Linked DNA regions of Homo sapiens: regions 2, 3 and 4 are each linked to region 1. Evidence: promoter capture Hi-C in 16 types of primary human blood cells and fetal thymus (Javierre and others, 2016). All regions are on one chromosome and are shown on one strand. Each heading gives the region's core, a stretch centred on a gene start or on the middle of the fragment in contact. The rest is flanking DNA. Distances are from core to core; before and after follow the strand shown. Region 1 holds the start of ASH1L-AS1 (ASH1L antisense RNA 1). Region 2 overlaps ASH1L (ASH1 like histone lysine methyltransferase). Region 3 overlaps ASH1L (ASH1 like histone lysine methyltransferase). Region 4 overlaps ASH1L (ASH1 like histone lysine methyltransferase).

Region 1 (5,566 bases), core at 2,603-5,102:
TCCTTGGGGAAACCATTATTCTATCTTCATTGGTTCAAATAATTCAGGGTTTGTTCATTCAGTGAGGTCATTTTATTGAGCACTTAATATATTTTAGTCTCTAGTTGGCTCTGGGGCATACATGAAAAAACAGAATCGTATCTCATTTGCTTGTATGTAGCTGATAATTCATTGATCAGTGTAGTTAATGAAACTTATTTTAACACAGAGACCATATGTAAGTAACTCTCCCTATACACTGGTGTGGTGAAATTCCAGTAAAGGCATTTTTTTTTCTTTGAAGCACAGCAATTATGCTGCTGATGAGAAATTTTACTTTGAAGAAAATGTGGTATAGTGAAAAAAGTAAGGTTTTTAAAAGACAGGCAAACTAGAGTCTAAAGATTGTTACTGGACTTCTCTGGGCCTCAGGCTTCTCTTTTGTAAAATGAGGGTAAGATTATCTACCTCAAAGTGTTGTTTATTATAAGGATTAAACAGGAATACGTGTTCCCCTGGCACAGTAGTCCACAAATGCTAATTGTCTTTCTCTTCTGGTATTTTAAGTATCTAACATTCATTTCAATATTTCTTTTCTTTTTCTTTTTTTTTTTTTTTTGAGAAGGAGTTTCACTCTCGTCTCCCAGGCTGGAATGCAAAGGCGTGATCTCGACTCACTGCAACCTCTCCCTCCTGGGTTCAAGCGACTCTCCTGCCTCAGCCTACCAAGTAGGTGGAACTACAGGCGCTCCACCATGCCCACCTGATTTTTTTTGGATTTTTTTTTTCTTTTTAAGACAAAGTCTCGCACTGTTGCCCAGGCTGGAGTGCAGTGGTGCAATCTCCACTCACTGAAATCTCTGCCTCCCGGGTTCAAGCAATTCTCCTGCCTCAGCCTCCCGAGTAGCTGGGATTACAGGCGCCCACCACCACGCCCGGCTAATTTTTTGTATTATTAGTAGAGACGGGGTTTCACTATGTTGGCCAGGCTGGTCTTGAACTTGTGACCTCGTGATCCATGCGCCTTGGCCTCCCAAAGTGCTGGGATTACAGGCGTGAGCTACCACACCCAGCCTCATTTCAATATTTCTGTGACTTGCTTTGCGCTAGCCTGTGATGCTTTATGTAAATTAAGTAGTAGACATAGTCCCTGTTCTCAGATAAAACAAGTTATTGGTAGCATAATACACTTGCACGCATGAAGCAACTAACAAAAGATCGGTAAACAAGTGGGCTCCATGAAAGTGTGGGACTTGGTTAGGAAAATATACAATGAGGTAATTAAGGCTGCTTTCCTCTTTACCTTAAAGAAACGAAACAAGTAAACAACACTTAATCCACGTATCCTAAAGGGGAAATTTGGGACTGTCTACTTGAATTTTGGAGGTTGCAAGGGCTTTTTATTTTTATTTTTTTCCCTCAGATGGAGTTTCGCTCTTGTTGCCCAGGCTGGAGTGCAATGGCACCATCTCGGCTCACTGCAATCTCCGCCTCCCAGGTTCAAGCGATTCTCCTGCCTCAGTCTCCTGAGTAGCTGGGATTACAGGCGTCCACCACCACGCCTGGCTAATTTTTGTATTTTTAGTAGAGACGGGATTTTGCCATGTTGGCCAGGCTGGTCTCGAACTCCTGACCTCAGGTCATCCGCCCACCTTGGCCTCCCAAAGCGCTGGGATTACAAGCGTTAGCCACCGCGCCCGGCCTTGCATGGGCTTTTGAACAGTCATTTCTGAATTACTTCCTGGATCCCCAGGAGTCCACAAATGTGAAGGAAAGGGAAACCCAAGTAGATCCTTCCGGTAATTTATTCTGCTTTACCCTTTAGGTAAAGGTAAAAACTACTAGATCAAGTAAACTTTGGAATTATTTGTGGACTTTAATCGTCCGTATTTCTGCTGCATTCAATTATCAAATATCAGTCAAGTGTTTTGAGAAACAAATATTCAGTAGCCACAGAAACCTAACAGGCCTATGTTTGCTTTGTTTTATTAACTCCTTGGAGGGACAGAACACTACCAATTACACCCACAAACGTTATCGACATCAACAGAACTGTAAATGACAACACGGCAATATTCTGCACTTTCCCTATGCCTAGGAGCTAATTCCACTTTACATATATTATCTTATTATTTCACACATTAACCCTGGAGGCATGTTTGGAGTTGCCTAATTTTTATGTACACTTTTTGATAAGGAACTAACAAAAATAACTTGCTGAAGGAAGAAAAGGGAGACTAAGTCCAGAACTGAATGAAAAGCACATGGTTTCTTCATCCTCCATCACCAGGCTGTCTAACGAGGCTGAAGAAGTACCATCCATGAGTAAGTGCGTCAAGGGCAAACAAACATCATCGCATATGGACAGTGGTGTGAAATTCGAGAAATCCGAGGAGGGTTAACAACAACAAAAAGCACACCACCACGCCGATCTTCCTCGGGTCCCAGGTTGGCAACTCAACGCCCGGGAGGAATCCCCCCGGAGGCGCGCCGGTCCTACTGGCCTCACTCCCTACCTCCTGGAGGTCCGGAGTCCCGCTCCTTTCCCTCAGCGGTACAATACCCGTGTCGGTCCATTCCCTCACCGTGAGTCGAGGACTAGTTCTCCTGACTAGGCGACCGGCACACACCGCCTGCGACCAGCTCCACAGCAGCGGTCCTGCTACTGCGAAGTAGGCTCAGGTCAACCGGCAGGAAACGACTCAACGCGCAGCCGCCGCGGCCTCCAACCACCGGTGGGCAGAGGGGCGCTAGGCAGTCCTCGATCCGCTCGCCGCGATCCGGCGGAGGAGGAGGAGCAGAGGGAGGCGAGCCGCAGCGCTGCGGCGAGGAGCCCAGGGAGGTAGGTTGTCGTGGGGCTCGGTCCGCCATTCTGGCAATTCCAGTCAAACGGCAAGCCCCGACCCGCTCGGCCCGTCCCTTCCTCTCCTGCCCCTGCAGCCGACAGGAATGGAACAGTCCCGCGGGGGGGATTGTGGGAGGCGCACGCGCGAGGGGTGGAGGGTGGTAGGGGGGGCTGGCGGCGGCGGCGGCGGCCGTGGCGGCGGTTGGTGGCCGTGGGGGCGGGGAAGGGGGGGGAGGAGAGAAGAGGAGGTGGAGGAGGAGGAGGAGGAGGCTTGGGCTTGCGCCGTTGAAGGTACGCGTGAGGGCCTGCGCCGGCGCCGGCTTGACAGGGCCTGAGGGGTAGTGAGGGACTGGACGAGGGGGTTCCTGTGGGTGAGCGCGTACGGGCTGGCTGGCGCGCGGGGCGGCCGAAGGTGGTGGTTGGTGGGAGCAGCCAGCGACGAGCCCGTAGACACTCGTACGCGTGCGGGCGGGCGTGCGCGCTACGCGGACGGAGTCGGGCGGAGCGGGGGACGGTGGGAAAGAACGCAAGGAGGAAGGAGTGGAAGGTTGAGGGGGGCGCTAGGCGCCCTTCGCTCCCTCCCTCTGGAGGAGCTGCCGCCGCCACCGCCGCCACTCTGCTGCTGCCGCCGCCGCCGCCGCCGCTCCCGCCGCCATTTTGGGTTCGCTTTGCGGAGGGGAGACGATCCCAGTCTCGGTTGCGGGACCCGCCTCCCCTCAGTTTGCCCCCTTTAGCCTTCCACCTTTCCCTTCTCCTCTCTCGCATTTCCGCCAGTCAGCTTACCCGCTGGCCGCCTCCTGACAAGCGGGAGGGATCCGCCGTGGACCCAGGGAAGCGGAGGAGCCTGGCGGCCACCCCCTCTTCCCCACTTCCCTGCACTCTCATCGCTCTCGGCCTCGGCCTCGGCCTCCGACACGGTGAGTAGAACGATTTGGGCCGGCATTCGGGCCTAAGCACTCTCTCAGCGATTGAATCCTGGGCTTTCTGGGAGCCACTGTCATCTCCCGGACCTGGATCTCTGAGAGAGCAGTGGTGAAGATGGGGGAGGGGAGAGCAGGGAGGGGGATCCTGAGCCTACCGGGAAGTCCCTCCAGGCGGGGTGAAGGGGTGTCCCTGACAGGCAGACTCCCGGAGGGGGCTGGGAAGTAAGCGAGTGGAGGCGGAGTCGGCTGTGCCCCTGACAGGTTAGTTTGTGTTTGTAGGCATGATCGGAGCCTCCCCCATAGTCCAGTTTGTGTGTGTTTAATTAAGGGATAAGAGTGGTCGAGGACACGATCTTGAGAGGGGATTTTACCTGTGTGACAAGGTCTGTGGTGTCCCTGCCGCGTTGAACGGTATGTGGGAACGACAGGATGATCTCAGTGTTGTAAGTTTAATAAATGTCACTGGTTAGTTTGTACATGGAAAGAGATGTTTTTGGTCTAGCAGACAGATGGTCTGTTGGTGTGTAGCGGCTGTGTTGGTGTGTGTATGTGAGGATGGCAAGTGTTTCCGTAAGAGTTTGCCTTTATTTGTGTAAGTGTAATGGAGTTCCCCTTATAAGTTAGCTTATTTCTTGAATAAATGTTGGGAGGTTCCTTGCAGGTTGATATGTGTGTGTATTTTAGGGATTGGGAGCCCCTAGTTACTTGTTGGGAAAGAGCGGCAATGGTAGTGTTCTGTACAGCATGTGTCTGTGAGGTCAGGGAGGGGAGAAACTTGGCATAGCCAGTTGTGGTCTTAAGAATAGTTTGTGCCTTTGGTTAGAGTGAGTTGTGTAAATGTGAAGGGCCAAAATATCTTTAACAGAATCATTACTACAAAGTTGTAAAGAATGGGTGGCCTTATTTGTTGTCGCGGGTTTATAGTAATAGTTTACAATACAATAAGAAAGCTCTTTCAGTTTTTTTGTGATACTGAATCTCTGTGAAAATGGTAGGATGCTTTCTTCCATTTTACAAAATAGGAAATTTAGGCATAAGGAGAGAACTTCTCCAAGGCCGCATGTTAAATTGGTGACAAAGTTGGAACTGTAACTCCCATATTTTCACTACTACTGCAGCAGTATATTCAGCATACCATGGTGCCTCAGGAAGTCTTTGTCGGCAAATCTGAGTATGCTGGAAAGATAGGAGCACATAAGACTGGTTGGCTTGTATTTGGGGGAGACCGATTGTGTCAGATATGTATGTGGAACGTAGCTGTCCTTGCCGAGTCTGACCTGTATGAAATGCATATCCATGACTATATTATTTTGGATTTATGGAGGAAGCAGAGCATTTCTGACACTTGAGGTTGTATGTGTGAGGGAGAGAAGGCTTTCACAGCTTAACTTGTACCAGAGCAGCTGCATGGGTGCTGACAGCTTAACTTGAAATCTGTGGGAGGAAGGATCCTTTTTCATTCATTCAACAAATATTTGTTGACTGCCTGTTCAATAAATGGTCCATGCCTTGGCGTGAGGATAATCAAGGTGTCTCTGTAAATAGCCTGGGTACAACGTGAGGGGAGTTGTTTTGACAGTGGTGGGTATTAAGTTGAGGGAGGCGGTGTGGAATTAAAACCAGAGAACTGTTTTTGGGTTCTGGTAATTGTTAATACATGTGCCTGTGGATGTTGGAACTTCTTGGCTGGGCTGAAGGAATCCTTTGAAAGACTCATTTCATATAGTAAGAATCCCCTCTATGAATATGAAGAAAGAATGCATAAACTAAGCCACTTAACCGTATTCTTCTGAAAAATGGGATGTTTCTTGATAGGCTA
Region 2 (5,270 bases), core at 1,611-4,110, 130 kb after region 1:
GCTCTTATCCCATTCTTCTCTCCATGGATAACGCTATTAACAGTACATTGTGTATTCTTTAATGCTGAGAGCTTGTCATCAGAACATACAGAATTACCTTATACTGTGGTAGGAATATATCATAATTTATGTAATTACACTGTTGTGATTGACTAGATCTTGCTTTTTTATATTTAGCTCTTTATGTCACTTATGTAATACTGAATATTAGCTATGAGTTAGAGGTTTAATTTTCTTTCAGTACTATTGATTAGTTTAGCCATTCCCAACTTATTTGGAATGATACATTTATCATACACTAAGTTTTTGTTGTTGCTGTTGTTGTTATTGTTTTTGAGACCGAGTCACCCAGGCTGGAATGCAGTGGCGCAATCTTGGCTCACTGCAACCTCTGTCTCCTGGGTTCAAGTGATTCTCATGCCTCAGCCACCCAAGTAGCTGGGATTACAAGCATGCGCCACCATGCCCAGCTAATTTTTGTATTTTTAGTAGAGACGGGGTTTCCCCATGTTGGCCAGGCTGGTCTTGAACTCCTGACCTCAAGTGATCCGCCTGCCTTGGCCTCCCAAAGTACTGTGATTACAGGCATGACTCACCACACCCAGCACTAAATTCTTTTTTTCTTTTTTTTTGAGACGGAGTCTCGCTCTGTCGCCCAGGCTGGTATACAGTGGCACAATCTCGGCTCACTGCAACCTCTGCCTCCCAGGTTCAAGTGATTCTCCTCCTGAGTAGCTGGGATTACAGGCGCACACCACCACACCACCATGCCTGGCTAATTTTTTTGTATTTTTAGTAGAGACGGGTTTTTACCATATTGGTCAGGCTGGTCTCAAACTCCTGACCTGATGATCCTCCCGCCTCGGCCTCCCGAAGTGCTGGGATTACAGGTGTGAGCTACGGCGCCCCACCATCCTAAATTCTTATATACTGTTAGATCTTAGGGTCTTTTCAATTTTTTTTTTTTTTTTTTTTTTTTACTGTGTCCCAGGCTTAAGAAAAAAGTGATACATGATGTGGGATTAAAATCAAGAACATCATTGAACTTCACCTTCCCTCCAACCAGTTGCCCCAAACTCCCCTGCCCCCACCCTTTGTGTTCCCAATTCCTTCCTTAGTGAATGAAGAACTTAATTCCAAAAGCCCTGGCACAAACTCCAGGTTCTCTTTCCCTAGCTCCTCCCCTCCCCCTGTCCCCCATTCCTAGAAGGGCAGGCACCTCAGTTTGAATGCATGGGAGAGCCCAGGGTGGTGACGGAGACGGGGGAAAGGCTTCCCCCTCAGGGAAAGGGACCGAGGAGTACAGTGCAGTGAAGTGAGGGCTCCCATAGCCTGGGGTACCAAAATGGGGCCCTGGGGCCAGAGGAAAGGATACTGGTACCCCTGAGAAAGGAGACCCAGCAGCCTCAAAATCCTCTCGTTATGCATAGTCGCTGCTTGATTGCTTGCCTTTCTGGCACCGGTTACAGAACCACACTCGGACCACATCCTTCTCGAGCCCAAGCTGCTGGGCGATGTGGCTGATCTGCTGCAGTGTGGGTTTCGGGCACTGCAGGAACAAATTCTCCAGGTTGCCTCTCACTCGGTTCTCGATACTGGTTCGCTTTCTCTTTCGAGCCTGCAAGAGGGTTTCTGCTTTGCATGTCTCCTGAAGATTTTCATTGTTGTCAGCTTCCTCCACCCACTTCTGCAGCAAGGGCCGCAGCTTACACATGTTCTTGAAGCTAAGCTGCAGACCCTCAAAGCGGCAGATGGTCGTTTGGCTGAACACCTTCCCAAATAGAACCCCCAGGGTGAGCCCCACATCGGCCTGTGTATATCCCAGGGTGATCCTCTTCTGCTTCAGGAGCTTGGCAAATTGTTCGAGTTCTTTCTGCAGAGCTTTGATGTTCTGGGACTCCTGCGGGTTTTGCTCCAGCTTCTCCTTCTCCAGTTTCACGGCACCAGGGGGGACGGTGCAGGGCTCCAGGGAGGTGCCATCGGAGTTGCTCTCCACCCTGACTCCTGCTTCGCCCTCAGGCTGAGAGGTCTCCAAGCCGCCTTGGGGCACTAGCCGCACTCCAACCTGAGGCCCACAGTACGCCATCCCCCCACAGAACTCATACAGCGGGGGGCATGGGGGAATCCCCCACACCTCAGAGCCTGACCCAACTCCCGGCCCGATTCCTGGCCCTCCAGGAGGGCCTTGGAAGCTTAGCCAGGTCCGAGGATCAACCCAGCCCGGCTCCGGCCCCCCTGGCCCATCACCTCCACCGCCTGGAGGGGGCAAGAAGGCAGGCATCCGAAGCCAGGTGTCCCGCCATGGGGAAGGAAGGCGCCCCAAGCTGGGGGCCTGGTGAAATGTCAAATATTTTTATATTCCTTTCTATCAGTCTATTTTGGTATCTCTGTCATAGCAGTTTAATTATTGAAGCTTTAAAACACTGACAAGGAGGATGATTTCTGCCTTTACTGTAGTTTGAGACATCTTGACCATTTATGTTAGGAAGGGTCATCTTTAAAATGTGCTTCAAGAAAAGGCTTTCATCAGCCTGGGTAACATGGTGAAACCCCGTCTTTACCAAAAAATACAATAAATTAGCTGGGCGTGGTGGTGTTGCACGCCTGTGGTCCCAGCTACTTGGGAGGCTGAGGTGGGGGGATCGCTTGAGCCAGGGAAGCAGAGGTTGCAGTGAGCCTAGATTGTACCACTGCACTCCAACCTGGATGACAGAGTAAGACTTCGTCTCAACAACGACAAAAAAGGCTTTTGAATAGGTTAGCCTTTCTATTCCAGCAAATTCTAGTATCATGGTCAGCAAAATTAAACACATACTTTTTCACAAGATTGTATTCTGAGATTTGAAGAGATTATAAAGAGAAAGATAAAATTTCTGCCCTCAAGAGATTGTGTAGGGAAGGACATGACACACTGAGTTCCCAGAGATAGCAACAGTTTTTCAACTTGTTCTAATTGGAGCTTACACTAGTACTTGTTATATAATATGTATTCATTTATTTTTTCAATTAGTATTTGTTGGAAGATTATTATGTTTCATGTACTTAGAATTGATAGAGTGGTGAATAAATCTAGAAACTTTTCCTACCTTCATGGATTTTAACCATCCAAGTGCTATTATGAAGAGTTACTTAGAGTTATAAGAGTACTGTATATAATAGAAATAACTAACTTAGTTTCCCAGAAAAAGTAAGGACTATGCTAAAAATGTGAAGAATAGGCTTCATCTGTTATTTAAAGGAGTGAGGAGAGAGCATACACAAAAGTCTGAAAAAGCATGATAGTTTCAGGCAAGCGAAAGAAAGCTTTTGTGGTCAAAACATGGAGTAGAGTAGCATGGGATACAGATAGAGGTTGTAGGGATCAGATTGTGCCAAGAACCTTGTATGATATATTAAAGATTTTGGTCACTATTTGTTGATTAATATAAAACCAGAATGCACAGGAAGAATTTAATGGTTATGAGGTGGGCTTCTAGACTCGGAAAACCTAGGTTCAAATCCTGGTTTTAAAAAGAAAAAGGTATATTTTTAAAACACTTATAAATTTTTGCTGTAAAAAATAAAATCAGGCCAGGTGTGGTGGCTCACACCTGTAATCCCAGCAGTTTGTCAGGCTGAGGCAGGAGGATCACTTGAGGCCAGGAGTTCAAGACAGCCTGAGCAGTGTGGCTGGTTGTAGCTACCGTTTCTACAAAGAACTGTTTGTTTGTTTGTTTATTTTAGACAGGGTCTTGCTGCGTCCCCCAGGCTGGACTACAGTGGCACAATCTCAGTTCACTGCAACCTCCACCTCCCGGGCTCAAGCGTCTCCACCCCCATCCCTCCCCCACAGTGGCTGGGACTGCAGGCGGGGGCCACCAGGCCTGGCTAATTTTTGTGTTTTTTGTAGAGATGGGGTCTCACTATGTTACCCAGGCTGGTTTTGAACTCCTGCACTCAAGCGATCCTCTCAACTTGACCTCCCAAAGTGCTAAGATTACAGGTGTGAGCACCGCACCTGGTCCATCTCTACAAAACATTTAAAAATTAAATGAGCGTGGTGGCTCGTGTCTGTGGTTCTAGCTACTTGGGAGGCTGAGGTGGGAGGATCACTTGCACTCAGGAGGTTGAGGCTGCAATGAGCTGTGTTCCTTCACTGCACTCCAGCCTTGGTGACAGAGTGTGACCTTGCCTCTAAAAATACATATATATTATAGCAAGACTTTGTCTCTAAAAATATGTATCTTATAATGTATATTATATGTAAATATTATATATATATATATTTTTGTTGTTGTTGAGACGGCATCTTGCTCTGTTGCCCAGGCTGGAGTACAATGGCTTGGCTCACTGCAACCTCCACCTCTTGGGTTCTAGCGATTTTCCTGCCTCAGCCTCTGGAGTAGCTGGGATTACAGGTCCTGCCACCATGCCCGGCTAATTTTTGCATTTTTAGTAGAGACAGGGTTTCACCATATAGGCCAGGGTGGTCTCGAACTCCTGACCTCAAGTCTGCCCACCTTGGCCTCCCAAAGTGCTGGGATTACAGGCGTGAGCTACCACACCTGACCGAAAAAAATTGTTAAGAGCTTGCTGGCCACACCAATAGTCTCAGCTACTCTGGAGGCTGAGGCTGGAGGATTGGTTGAACCCAGGAGTTTGAGACCAGCTTGGGCAATGGCAAAACCCTATTTCTAAAAACAATTTTATGAAAATAAGAAATTAAAAGAACAAGTGAATGAGCCTGAAAATGATATTGGAAGAATGTAAAACATACACCTTAAGTTAATAAAATAAGGCAAATGTATAACAGTAAGAGTCACTTTTAAGACCAAAGTTCTTTGAAAACTAATAAAATAGACAAACTTCTGGTAAAGCCGATCAATAGGAATGAGAAAGGGAATAAATAGGGATTTAAAAGGAAATAAAGTGTATATAAGAGATTAAAAATTTACTACTGTGAGAACTTTAAGCCCATCAAATGGGAAAACTGTTGAAATGGACATGTTCCTAGAAAAATACAATTTTAACAAAACATACTCAAAAGAAATTACCTGAGCACTCCTATTGCCTAAATTGAATCTATTATTTAAAGTCTTGCCCCAAGAACAGCATCAGACCCAATTTTAACTTCTACCACACTTTCAAGAAAAATATTATTCCCATCTCATTAAAGAGAATATGGGCTGCAAACAGAAGAGGATACATCTAAAGAGAATACATAAACAGGCCAGATGAGGTGGCTCACACCTGTAGTCCCAGCATTTTGGGAGGCAGAGGCAGGAGTATTG
Region 3 (5,174 bases), core at 1,113-3,612, 190 kb after region 1:
AAGCCAGATGTCCCACTATATAAGAAAATTCGTTCAAGTGAGTAACTTAGGAGCTATTTTTTCTGCCTCTATACGTTAATGTTCTTCTGAGCCTAGCACTTGAAAAATTATCCTGTATGTTCACAAACTATTCTTTGCTTTCTTTTCAAGATGTCTACGTTGATGTCAAACCCCTTTCTGGTTACGAAGCTACCACCTGTAACTGTAAGAAGCCAGATGATGACACCAGGAAGGGCTGTGTTGATGACTGCCTCAATAGGTACTGTCATGCTTTGATTTCTCTAAAGCATAGGCTTTAAGGTATACATACAACACTTCCTTTGGAGGGTACAGTTAAATAGGCTCTTTGATTTTTTTCAAGAAGTTGCACAAAGATATATAAACCATAATGGGTGGGCGGAATACAGAAACAGAAAATGAATGAGATTTAGAGTCTTGTGTGTGCCTTCGTTGGTTTAAATCCTTTTACTTTTTTTTTGTTTGTTTTTTTTGTTTTGTTTTGTTTTGTTTTTTTTTTGAGACGGAGTCTCCCTCTGTCGCCCAGGCTGGAGTGCAGTGGCGCGATCTCGGCTCACTGCAAGCTCCGCCTCCCGGGTTCACACCATTCTCCTGCCTCAGCCTCCCTGGTAGCCAGCACTGCAGGCACCCACCACCACACCCAGCTAATTTTTTTTGTATTTTTAGTAGAGATGGGATTTCACCGTATTAGCCAGGATGATCTCAATCTGACCTCGTGATCCACCAGCCTCGGCCTCCCAAAGTGCTGGGATTACAGGCGTGAGCCACCGCGCCCAGCCAATCCTTTTACTATTTATGAGACCTGAGAAAAGTTATTTAATGCATCTAATAAAAGTAATACCTTACCTTCTCTATGGAGGGTTTGTGGAGATTATATGAGACTGTTGATAAACAATGTTTGTGAAGTTTTGGCTTTCTTGTTTTGGGGTTTTTGTTTTGTTTTGTTTTGTTTTTTTTAGAGATAGGGTCTCACTGTGTTGCCCAGGCTGGATTCAAACTCCTGGGCTCAAGTAGTCCTCCTACCTCAACCTCCTGAGTAGCTGGAACTATAGGTATGTGATACTGTGCCCAGCTCATAAAACATTAAGCACAGTCCTAGGTACCTTCCTAGCTCTCAATATATGGTTGCCACAATGAGGAAGCAGAATAGGACAGTGGCAGTGAGAGTGAAGAGGAAGGGCATAATATATTTTAGAAGAAAAGTATGTTGATAAACCATCGGCATATAGGGGATATGCTCTTCATATGGGGATATATTCTCTCTCTGAAAATAAAGTGTGGAATCTAACTGAATTGGAGATAAGAATTATGAATTTGGCTGGCATGGTGGCTCATGCCTATAATCCAAGCACTTTGGGAGGCTGAGGCAGGCAGGTCACCTGAGGTCGGGAGTTCAAGACCAGCCTGACCAACATGGAGAAACCCCATCTCTACTAAAAATACAGAATTAGCCGGGCATGGTGGCTCATGCCTATAATCCCAGCTACGTGGGAGGCTGAGGCAGGAAAATTGCTTGAACCTGGGAGGCAGAGGTTGCAGTGAGCCAAGGTCCTGCCATTGCACTCCAGCCTGGGCAACAAGAGGGAAACTCCATCTCCCCCCCAAAAAAAAAGAATTATGAGTTATGACTTTGATTTGAGTCTGTAATTTTTTTTTTTTCTTTTTCTGAGATGGAGTCTAGCTCTGTTACCCAGGCTGGAGTGCAGTGGCGCGATCTTGGCTCACTGCAACCTCTGCCTCCCGGGTTCAAGAGATTCTCCTGCCTCAGCCTCCCAAGTAGCTGGGATTACAGGTGCCCCCCACCATGCCTGGCTAATTTTTGTATTTTTTTAATTTATTTTTTTGAGACAGAGTCGCGCTCTGTCGCCAGGCTGGAGTGCGGTGGCACGATCTCAGCTCACTGCAACCTCCACTTCCCAGGTTCAAGTGATTCTCCTACCTCAGCCTCCCGAGTAGCTGGGACTACAGGCATGAGCCACCACACCTGGCCAAGAGAGTATATAATTTTAAACGGCACTGAAATTTCAAAATAGAAATGTCTAATAGACAAAGGAGTGGATATAGAATTTGTTGTTTTAGTAACAATGCACATGTGCAGCAAAATAAAAAAGAATCAGTGAATTTTACATCAGTATTTCCTGTTCTGGATAGTTCTCATGGCCAAAAGTAGCTTCTTTGATCTCTAGTCAGCTGTCCATGTGGTCTGAAGGGAATCAATGTTTTAGTTCTTCCTGCTTCAGCATGCCAGTTGGGAAATTCTACCTTACCTGCATCACTGTAAATTCACACCTTATCATTTTATGTACATACAGGTTCACATAGTGTTTTGCATACTGATTTTCTTTACTCACAAATATTTTAAATGCACACTTTTATTAAACAGTGTGGTCCACAAGCTCAGTATTTTTATTTATTTATGACACAGGATATCACTCTGTTGCCCAGGCTGGAGTGCAGTGTCGCCATCACAGCTCACTACAACTTCTACCTTCCGGACTCAAGCAATCCTCCCATGTTAGCCTCCTGAGTAGCTGAGACTAAAGACGCGTGTCACCACGCCTGGCTAATTTATTTATTTTATTTATTTTTAAAGTAGAGACGGGATCTCGATACTTAGCCGAGGCCGGTCCTGAACCCTTAAATCTCACTATATGAAGGACAACCTAGATCTACGTTTAGTAGCTGGCTGGGGTGCGACTGTCTCATTTTTCTTTTTTTTTTTTGAGACGAAGTTTCATTCTCGTTGCCCAGGCTGGAGTGCAATGGCACAATCTCAGCTCACTGCAGCCTCCACCTCCCGGGTTCAAGCGATTCTCCTGCCTCATCCTTCATCCTTGCGAGTAGCTGGGATTTACAGGCACCTGCCACTGCACCCGGCTAATAATTTTTGTATTTTTAGTAGAGACAGGGTTTTGCCATGTTGACCACGCTGGTCTCGAACTCCTGACCTCAGGTGATCCTCTTGCCTCAGCCTCCCAAAGTGCTGGGATTACAGGTGTGAGCCACTGCATCCAGCCCAACTCTCGTTTTTCAAGGGCATTATCTGGCTAAAGATAATGACAAATTGTACTAAATCAAAGACCTCACATTGTAGTTTACAGCATCTAATTTCAGATTTTGGTAAATTTAGTTTGGTTTCCAGACACAACAAATAGAAACATGTTTTGGTTTTATATAATTTAAGGACTTATTCTGGTTGTCAAAACAAATGGGGAATATATTTCAATGCCTTGAACTCTAGAAACTACAAATTTTCAGTAACCTCTGAATGATTGTTCCCTGGAAGAAATCTTTTAAAATTTAAATCTCTCTTATCTGAGCACTCTTTTATTTATACTTCAGGGTTTTTTTAAATCCGGATGCAGTTTATAGTATGTGTTATTAGGTATTATGAAAATACTTGGTGCCAGCCAAGCACAGTGGCTCACGTCTGTAATCCCAACACTTTGGGAGGCTGAGGTAGGCAGATCACTTGAGGTCAGGAGTTTGAGACCAGCCTGGGCAACATGGCAAAACCCCACCTCTACAAAAAATACAAAAGTTAGCAGGCATAGTGGTGCATGCCTGCAGTCCCAGCTACTTGGGAGGCTGAGGTGGGAGGATCGCTTGAGCCTGGAGGTTGAGGCTACAGTAAGCTGTGATCACGCCACTGTACTCCAGGCTGGGTGACAGAGTGAGACCCTGTGTCAAAAAAAGAAAAGAAGAAAATATAGGTGTGGAATATTATGAACTAGAGGTTACATTTGAAGCCATGATTATAGATCAGCTCTCTAGAAAAAGGAATATGGTAGAGGAAAAAAGGATTTCTACCAGAAAAGACAGGAATTGGTATTGGCAAGGTGGGAAATCCAGTATCATAAAAAATGAGGAAAGCCAAAAAAGGAAGGCATTTCAAGAGGGGTATTCAATAATATTCATGTACCAAAGAAGTCAGCAAACGGAAGAGTAAAGGTGGTTGAATTTGATGTTAAGGCACTGTCTTCTTTACAGCTGAAGCTGATTATCTTAAATTGAAGAATAATCCAGTCGATACTTTCTCTGCTCCTATTTACATGATTTGACACTGTGTGCCGTGTGCCCTTTAGAATCGTGGTGGTATTTTTGTTTAGAGTAAGTCAGATTACTCTGAAAGTACTTTAAGGTATAAACTGTTATATATTTTCTTTACAAAACTTTTCACTTTTTTTTTTCCTTTTTTTGAGACAGTCTCGCTCTGTCACCCAGGCTGGAGTGCAGTGGCACCATCTCGGCTCACTGCAGCCTCTGCCTCCCAGGTTCAAGCGATTCTCCTACCTCCGCCTCCCAAGTAGCTGGGATTACAGTTGCCACCACGCCTGGCTAATTTTTGTATTTTTAATAGAGACGAGGTTTCGCCGTGTTGGCCAGGCTGATCTCGAACTCCTGACCTCACGTGATCCTCCCGCCTCTGCCCCCCAAAGTGCTGGGATTACAGGCATGAGCCACCGTGCCCGGCCTTTAAAATTATTATTATAAATATAACATGATATTTTGACGATTATTTTCTTGATCATTCCTTGTTTTAGTCATGCTTAAGGCCAGGCATGTTGGCTTACGCCTGTAATCCAGCATTTTGGAAGGCCAGGGTGGGCGGATCACTTGAGTCCAGGAGTTTGTGACCAGCCTGGGCAACATGGAAAAACCCCATCTTTACTAAAAATACAAAACATCAACTGGGCATGGTGGCGTGTGCCTATAGTCCCAGCTATTCTGGAGGCTGAGGTGAGAAAATCACCTGAGCCCAGGAGGTCGAGGCTGCAGTGAGCCAAGATCATGCCACTGCACTCCAGCCTGGGCAACCAGAATGAGACCCTGTATCCAAAAAACAAACCAAAAAATAATGCTTAACAGCCTAGATGAGATTTCAAACCATACACCAAAACTAAACAGCTCCCATTAAAACAGCCAGGTGCATTGGCTCACAAAATGCTGTAATCCCTAGCATTTTGGGAGGCCGATGAGGGAGGATCCCATGACCCCCAGGAATTTGAGACCAGCCTAAGCAACATAGCAGCAAGACCTCACCTCTACAAATAATTTTTTTTTTAAGTAGTCAGATGCGGTGGTGCGCGCCTGTGTTCCCAGCTACCCAGGAAGCTGAGGTGGGAGAATTGCTTGAGCCCAGGTGGTCAGAGCTG
Region 4 (5,688 bases), core at 1,628-4,127, 150 kb after region 1:
CACGTCCCCCAAAGAAGAAGTATCAGAAAGCAGGGCTGTATTCTGACGTTTACAAAACTACAGAGTAAGTAGTAGTACCTATTAGCTAACATCCCTTTTTCTTCCACATTTGGAAAAATACTTTGACTATCAAAAAACAATATAGATTCTTTTGTGTTTCATAAGCGTGATGATTGTGTTTTTGCACTCATGTATGAGGTACGCCTCCCTCAAACTTTGTGTCAAGGTCAATACATTACCCTTTCTGATGTGGGGGGAAATCAGTACAAAAGTAATATGCACAAATACCAGTGTTCACTGTACTACTGTACTGTCTTATGTTGTATGAGACTAATTGTCTTTCTGATGGTTATCTTCTCTCTGCCTTTCTAGATTGAGATTCTAATGATGCTTTTCTTTTCTTTTTTTGTTTTTTTTTTTTTTTTTGAGACGGAGTCTCGCCCTGTCACCCAGGCTGGAGTGCAGTGGTGCGATCTTGGCTCACTGCAAACTCTGCCTCCGGGGTTCACGCCATTCTCCTACCTCAGCCTCCCGAGTAGCTGGGAGTACAGGGCCCGCCACCACGCCCAGCTAATTTTGTGTATTTTTAGTAGAGACGGGGTTTCACCATGTTAGCCAGGATGGTCTAGATCTCCTGACCTCGTGATCCACCTGCCTCGGCCTCCCAAAGTGCTGGGATTACAGGCGTGAACCACCGTGCCTGGCCCTAATGATGCTTTTCTTATTAACTTAAGCAATAAATGGCTCTGTGTAACTAAAATGATATTGGTGACTTCATTTTTTATATTGGTGACTTCATTTTTCACTGATTGGACGCTGTGTTCCATGAGCTTTGTCAGATGAATAAAATATTTGCCTTGCTTTTAAGAACTTTGTATTATCTTGGCAGAGTACAATTTAATAAGCACTCTAATTGAGAATTTTTAAAGCATCAAAGGGATAGCAAATTATCATCAATTAAGAAATATTTTCTGGTTGAGTTAGGATTTAGAGGTGTGGTAGTAGTTTACCAGATGGAGAAGGATATTCCAGTCAGAACAGCATGTAAAAAGGATACAAAGATTTTTCATATATCAAAACAACTTGAAAGTTTAGGGCTTCTGAAATGTAGTGGCCCTGTGGTAAATAAGCATTATATGATGAGGAACATATAACCATGGACTTTGAGATATTTAGTTAACTTTAAGATATTTGGTTTTGGATGGGAGTGGTGGCTCACACCTATAATCCCAACACTTTGGGAGGCCAGGGCGGGTGGATCACCTGAGGTTGGGAGTTTGAGACCAGCCTGACCAACATGGAGAAACCCCGTTTCTACTAAAAATACAAAATTAGCCGAGTGTGGTGGCACATGCCTGTAATCCCAGCTACTTGGGAGGCTGAGGCAGGAGAATCGCTTGAACCTGGGAGGCGGAGGTTGCAGTGAGCCGAGATCGAGCCATTGACTCCAGCCTGGGCAGCAAGAGCGAAACTCCATCTCAAAAAAAAAAGAAATTTTTTTAATGCTATTTTGCTATAGGAAATAAAAAATGAGTTTGGGGGATGGATGTGAAAGGTATAGGTTTGTTTAAGATAACTCCAGCAGCAGGGTGGAAAATAAATGGAATGAATTACTAGTGGCAAAAACTCTCACCTCACAGTTTCTGTCAAAAAGTCATGAATATCTGAATTTAGACAAAGAGAAGAATAAGATTGAAAGAGGAAACCTTAGATTTTAGAGGTACATCTCGTTTGGTGGTGTTAAAGTAATTGACATGTAAACCATACCACTTTATTTTGCATTTAAAAGATTTTTATTGATTTGTCACTGAGGTAGATATCACAAAATTTTTATACTCTGAACGTGCTTCTTAGGTCATGAAAACATTTTACTAATGAAGCTTAAGTTTAGCTAATTATAATAATAAATCATCTCAAATAACCAAGACTTTAAAAAGATAGGCACTTAACTATTTTTTTTAATTTAAGAGAAGTTGTGAAGTATGTAGTTCAAAGTTCATAATGGTACCTTCACAATGTCTTCAGGGACCTAGGCTCCTTTTTCTCCCTTCTATCTCAGCACTAATTATGCATTCCTAAGATTCCCTCATGTTCCAAGATAGTTACTAGAGTCCAGCCATTTGATGTTTGTTACAGACAGAAAAGAGGAGGAAAAGCATGCTCCTTCTTTGTTTTTTGTTTTCTGGTTTGTTTGTTTGTTGCGATGGAGTTTCACTCTTGTTGCCCAGGCTGGAGTGCAATGGCACGATCTCGGCTCACTGCAACCTCTGCCTTCTGGGTTCAAGCGATTCTCCTGCCTCAGCCTCCCAAGTAGCTGGGATTACAGGCACCCACCACCGTGCCCAGCTAATTGTTTGTAATTTTAGTAGAGATGGGCTTTCACCATGTTGGCCAGACTGGTCTTGAATTCCTGACCTCAGGTGATCCGCCCTCCTCTGCCTCCCAGAGTGCTAGGATTACAGGCGTGAGCCACCATGCCTGGCCCATGCTCCTTCTTTGTAAGAAAATTTCAAACCCGCATTTATATAAATTGGCTAGAATTTAAATTGCATAGCCACACTTTAGCCATAAGACAGGTTGCGGAAATAATGGTCATTACTCTAGGTGTTAATAGCTGTTAAGGAAAAAAAAAATCAACATTCTGTCAGTAGAAATGAGAAAGTAGAAATACACTTTGGGACACATCTAATTCAGTCATAATTTTGGAACAGAGTCTGCTAAATAGAGCAGAAATATAATTATCAACTTTTCTGCTAAATAAAATTCAAGTTTTATTTCTTGCTTAGGGAGAACCTCTCAGACTGTGTTTTTCCTCTGCTGTCACATCACAATAATCATCAACAAAGAAGTCTGTAAGAGCAAACTGCTGGTTTAAAAAAAACCATTTTTTTCAATAAAATTAAAAAAAAAAAAAACACACAGAAGACTTCTGTAACCAAAGGTATGAGGGTTTTCCCATACACCAAGCAATAGGCAGCAGCTGGGTGTCCTCAATTCAATTCTGTCACTGTTTTCCTGGATATAGGGTCAGATCCTATAGGTTGGGTGCTCAGTTCCCAAGACCGCCACCCTCCCTTTAGACCAGTCACAACTCTGGCTCTCTAGAACTTCTGACCAACCAGCTTCAAGTTGGGGTTTCCACAATCCCCCCTTTGGGTTTGATTAATTTGCTAGAATGGCTCACAAAACTCAAGGAAACATGTACTTCCATTTACTGGTTTGTTATAAAGGATATTACAGACGCTATAGATGAAGACATATACTGGGGAAGGAGCATAGAGCTTTCATTCCCTCCTTGGGCGCACTACCCTCCAGGAACCTCCACATGTTCAGCTATCCAGAAACTCTCTGAACCTTTCTTTTTGAGTTTTGTTTTTTGTGGTTTTGTTTGTTTTTTTGAGATGGGGTTTCGCTCTTGTCAACCAGGCTGGAGTGCAATGGTATGATCTTGGCTCACTGCAGGCTCTGCCTCCTAGGTTCAAGTGATTCTCCTGCCTCAGCCTCCAGAGTAGCTGGGATTACAGGCACCTGTCACCACACCCAGCTAAATTTTTTTTTTTTTTTTTGAGACGGAGTCGTGCTCTGTTGCCCAAGCTGGGGTGCAGTGGCAAGATCTTGGCTCACTGCAACCTCCACCTCCTGGGTTCAAGCAGTTCTCCTACCTCAGCCTCCTGAGTAGCTGGGACTACAGGCACACACCGCCATGCCCAGCCAATTTTTTGTATTTTAGTAGAGACGGGGTTTCACCATGTTGCCCAGTCTGGTTGCGAAATCCTGAGCTCAGGCAGTCCGCCCACCTCAGCCTCCCAAAGTGCTGGGATTACAGGAGTGAGCCACAGCGCCCGGCCTCTTTTTGAGTTTTTATGGAAGCTTCATAGGCGTCAATGACAGCCATGTAGAAATGTGATTGAACAAAATGTAGAGGATGTAAACCCAGCATGTCCTGTCTAGACTTCTTGGCCTCTCTGTGTCACATTCCTTTCTCTAGGGTATGGGGCAGGACCCTCTCTGGAGTGAGGGTTTTCTTGGCCCAGAATCAGATTAGAGTCCTGCCTTAGGTAGGTGAAAGGAAGACAGGAGAAGGTCAAAGAGAGATTCTATCTCCTGAGGCCCACTCCTGAGACTTAAAGTGCCCCAACATTATAACAGGGACTATGGGAGTTAAGAGCCAGGAACCATGGATGAAAACATATATATATATATATATATATATATATATATTTATTTATTTATTTATATTCATATTTATATTTATATATATCATAAGACCACACTTCTGTTTTTTACTTTTGTGCTTTTTCTTGATTAAAGATTTAAAAATGGAAGATTCTGATCTTTTGATGTAATTTGATTTCACATCAAATTATACAACCGTATCAGTGATTTGTAAGTGTCTCTGGTCATACAAAAGATTTGACCTGAAAATGGACTGAAATATCACTTTATGTATGTTAGAACTAGCTCTTCCTCTCCCAAAAATAAGTAGGAAGAAAATGGTTTATTCTTTAAGCATTTTTAAGAACATTGATCAGTTTAGTACATGTATGCATTCTTGAAAGATGTGAAGCCAGGATATTATTGTGGGCTGGCTATTTTGTTGTTAGCAGTTTCATTAATAAACTTATGTTTAGAGCAGTTTCAGTTTCACAGCAAAATTGAGTGGAAAGTACAGAGTTTTCATATACACCCTGTTCTTCATACACACAACCTGCCCACTGTTACACCACACCATTGTGATACATGTGTTATGATCCATGTACCTACATTGATATACCATTATTACCCAAAGTCCGTAGTTACTTTAGGGTTCACTCTTGGTGAAATACATTCTATGGGTTTTGACAAATGTATACTGACATGTATCTACTATTGTAATATCATACAATAGAATAAAAATAAAGGGGCCAGGTGCGATTGCTCACGCCTGTAATCCCAGCACTTTAGGCCGCTGGAGCTGGAGGATTGCTTGAGCCCAGGAGTTCAAGACCAACCTGGGCAACATAGCAAGACCTTGTCTCTACTAAAAATTTAAGAATTCAGGCCAGACGCAGTGGCTCAGGCCTGTAATCCTGTATATCATTCTTGGTGATATACATTCTATGGGTTTCGACAAATGTATACTGACATGTATCTACTGTTGTAATATCATACAACAGAATAAAAATAAAGGCCAGGTGCGATTGCTCACGCCTGTAATCCCAGCACTTTAGGCGGCTGGAGCTGGAGGATTGCTTGAGGCCACTTTGGAAGGCAAGGCAGGCAGACTACTTGAGGTCAGGAGTTCAAGACCAGTCAGGCCAACATGACACAACCCTGTCTCTGCTAAAAATACAAAAATTAGCTGGGCGCAGTGGCAGGCACCTGTAATCCCAGCTCCTTGGGAGGCTGAGGCAGAAGAATCCTTTGACCTCCGGAGGCAGAGGTTGCAGTGAGCCGAGATCGCACCATTGCACTCCAGCCTGGGTGACAGAGCAAAACTCTGTCTCAGAAATAAATAAGTAAATAAAATAAAAATCCAGCAGGTGTGGTGGCGCACAGCTGTAGTCCCAGCTGCTTGTGAGACTGAAGTGAGCAGATCACTTGAGTCCAGGGGTCCGAGGCTGCAGTGAGTTGTGTTCATGACATTACATTCCAGCCTAAGTGACAAAGCGTTTTTTTTGAAACCCTGTCTCAGAAAAAGAAAGAGAA

The links. Contacts are between HindIII fragments. The CHiCAGO score rates a contact against its expected background, and 5 or more counts as called.
Region 2: a contact is called between a fragment that was not itself captured here and the fragment with the promoter of ASH1L-AS1 in region 1, in 1 of 17 cell types (M1 macrophages). The highest score is 6.3, in M1 macrophages.
Region 3: a fragment that was not itself captured here is called in contact with the fragment with the promoter of ASH1L-AS1 in region 1 in 2 of 17 cell types (M0 macrophages and erythroblasts); the score reaches 5.2 in M0 macrophages.
Region 4: a fragment that was not itself captured here is called in contact with the fragment with the promoter of ASH1L-AS1 in region 1 in 2 of 17 cell types (M1 macrophages and erythroblasts); the score reaches 5.8 in M1 macrophages.

The regions. Positions count from the first base shown.
Region 1 is chr1:155,560,328-155,565,893 of GRCh38, reverse strand. ASH1L-AS1 (ASH1L antisense RNA 1) reads right to left here and starts at 3,852. Exons shown (of 2, transcript NR_147964.1): 1 at 3,608-3,852; 2 at 1,950-2,644. ASH1L (ASH1 like histone lysine methyltransferase) reads left to right here and starts at 3,091. Exons shown (of 28, transcript NM_018489.3): 1 at 3,091-3,741. It also overlaps a transcript of MSTO1 not described here. RefSeq lists silencers at 1,582-1,876, 2,961-3,100, 3,151-3,300, 5,022-5,316 and an enhancer at 2,505-3,072. The HindIII fragment of the contact is 29,470 bases long and covers 1-5,566 here.
Region 2 is chr1:155,430,213-155,435,482 of GRCh38, reverse strand. The region is part of intron 5 of ASH1L (ASH1 like histone lysine methyltransferase); the gene reads left to right. It also overlaps the pseudogene POU5F1P4. Among named protein-coding and RNA genes, the nearest start is that of MIR555, 86 kb to the right of the region's middle. The HindIII fragment of the contact is 890 bases long and covers 2,416-3,305 here.
Region 3 is chr1:155,373,366-155,378,539 of GRCh38, reverse strand. ASH1L (ASH1 like histone lysine methyltransferase) reads left to right here. Exons shown (of 28, transcript NM_018489.3): 9 at 1-37; 10 at 151-259. Among named protein-coding and RNA genes, the nearest start is that of MIR555, 30 kb to the right of the region's middle. The HindIII fragment of the contact is 8,414 bases long and covers 1-5,174 here.
Region 4 is chr1:155,410,120-155,415,807 of GRCh38, reverse strand. It overlaps ASH1L (ASH1 like histone lysine methyltransferase), which reads left to right. Exons shown (of 28, transcript NM_018489.3): 6 at 1-64. It overlaps LOC124904842 (small nucleolar RNA U13), which reads left to right and starts at 146; the gene lies at 146-250. The HindIII fragment of the contact is 1,990 bases long and covers 1,883-3,872 here.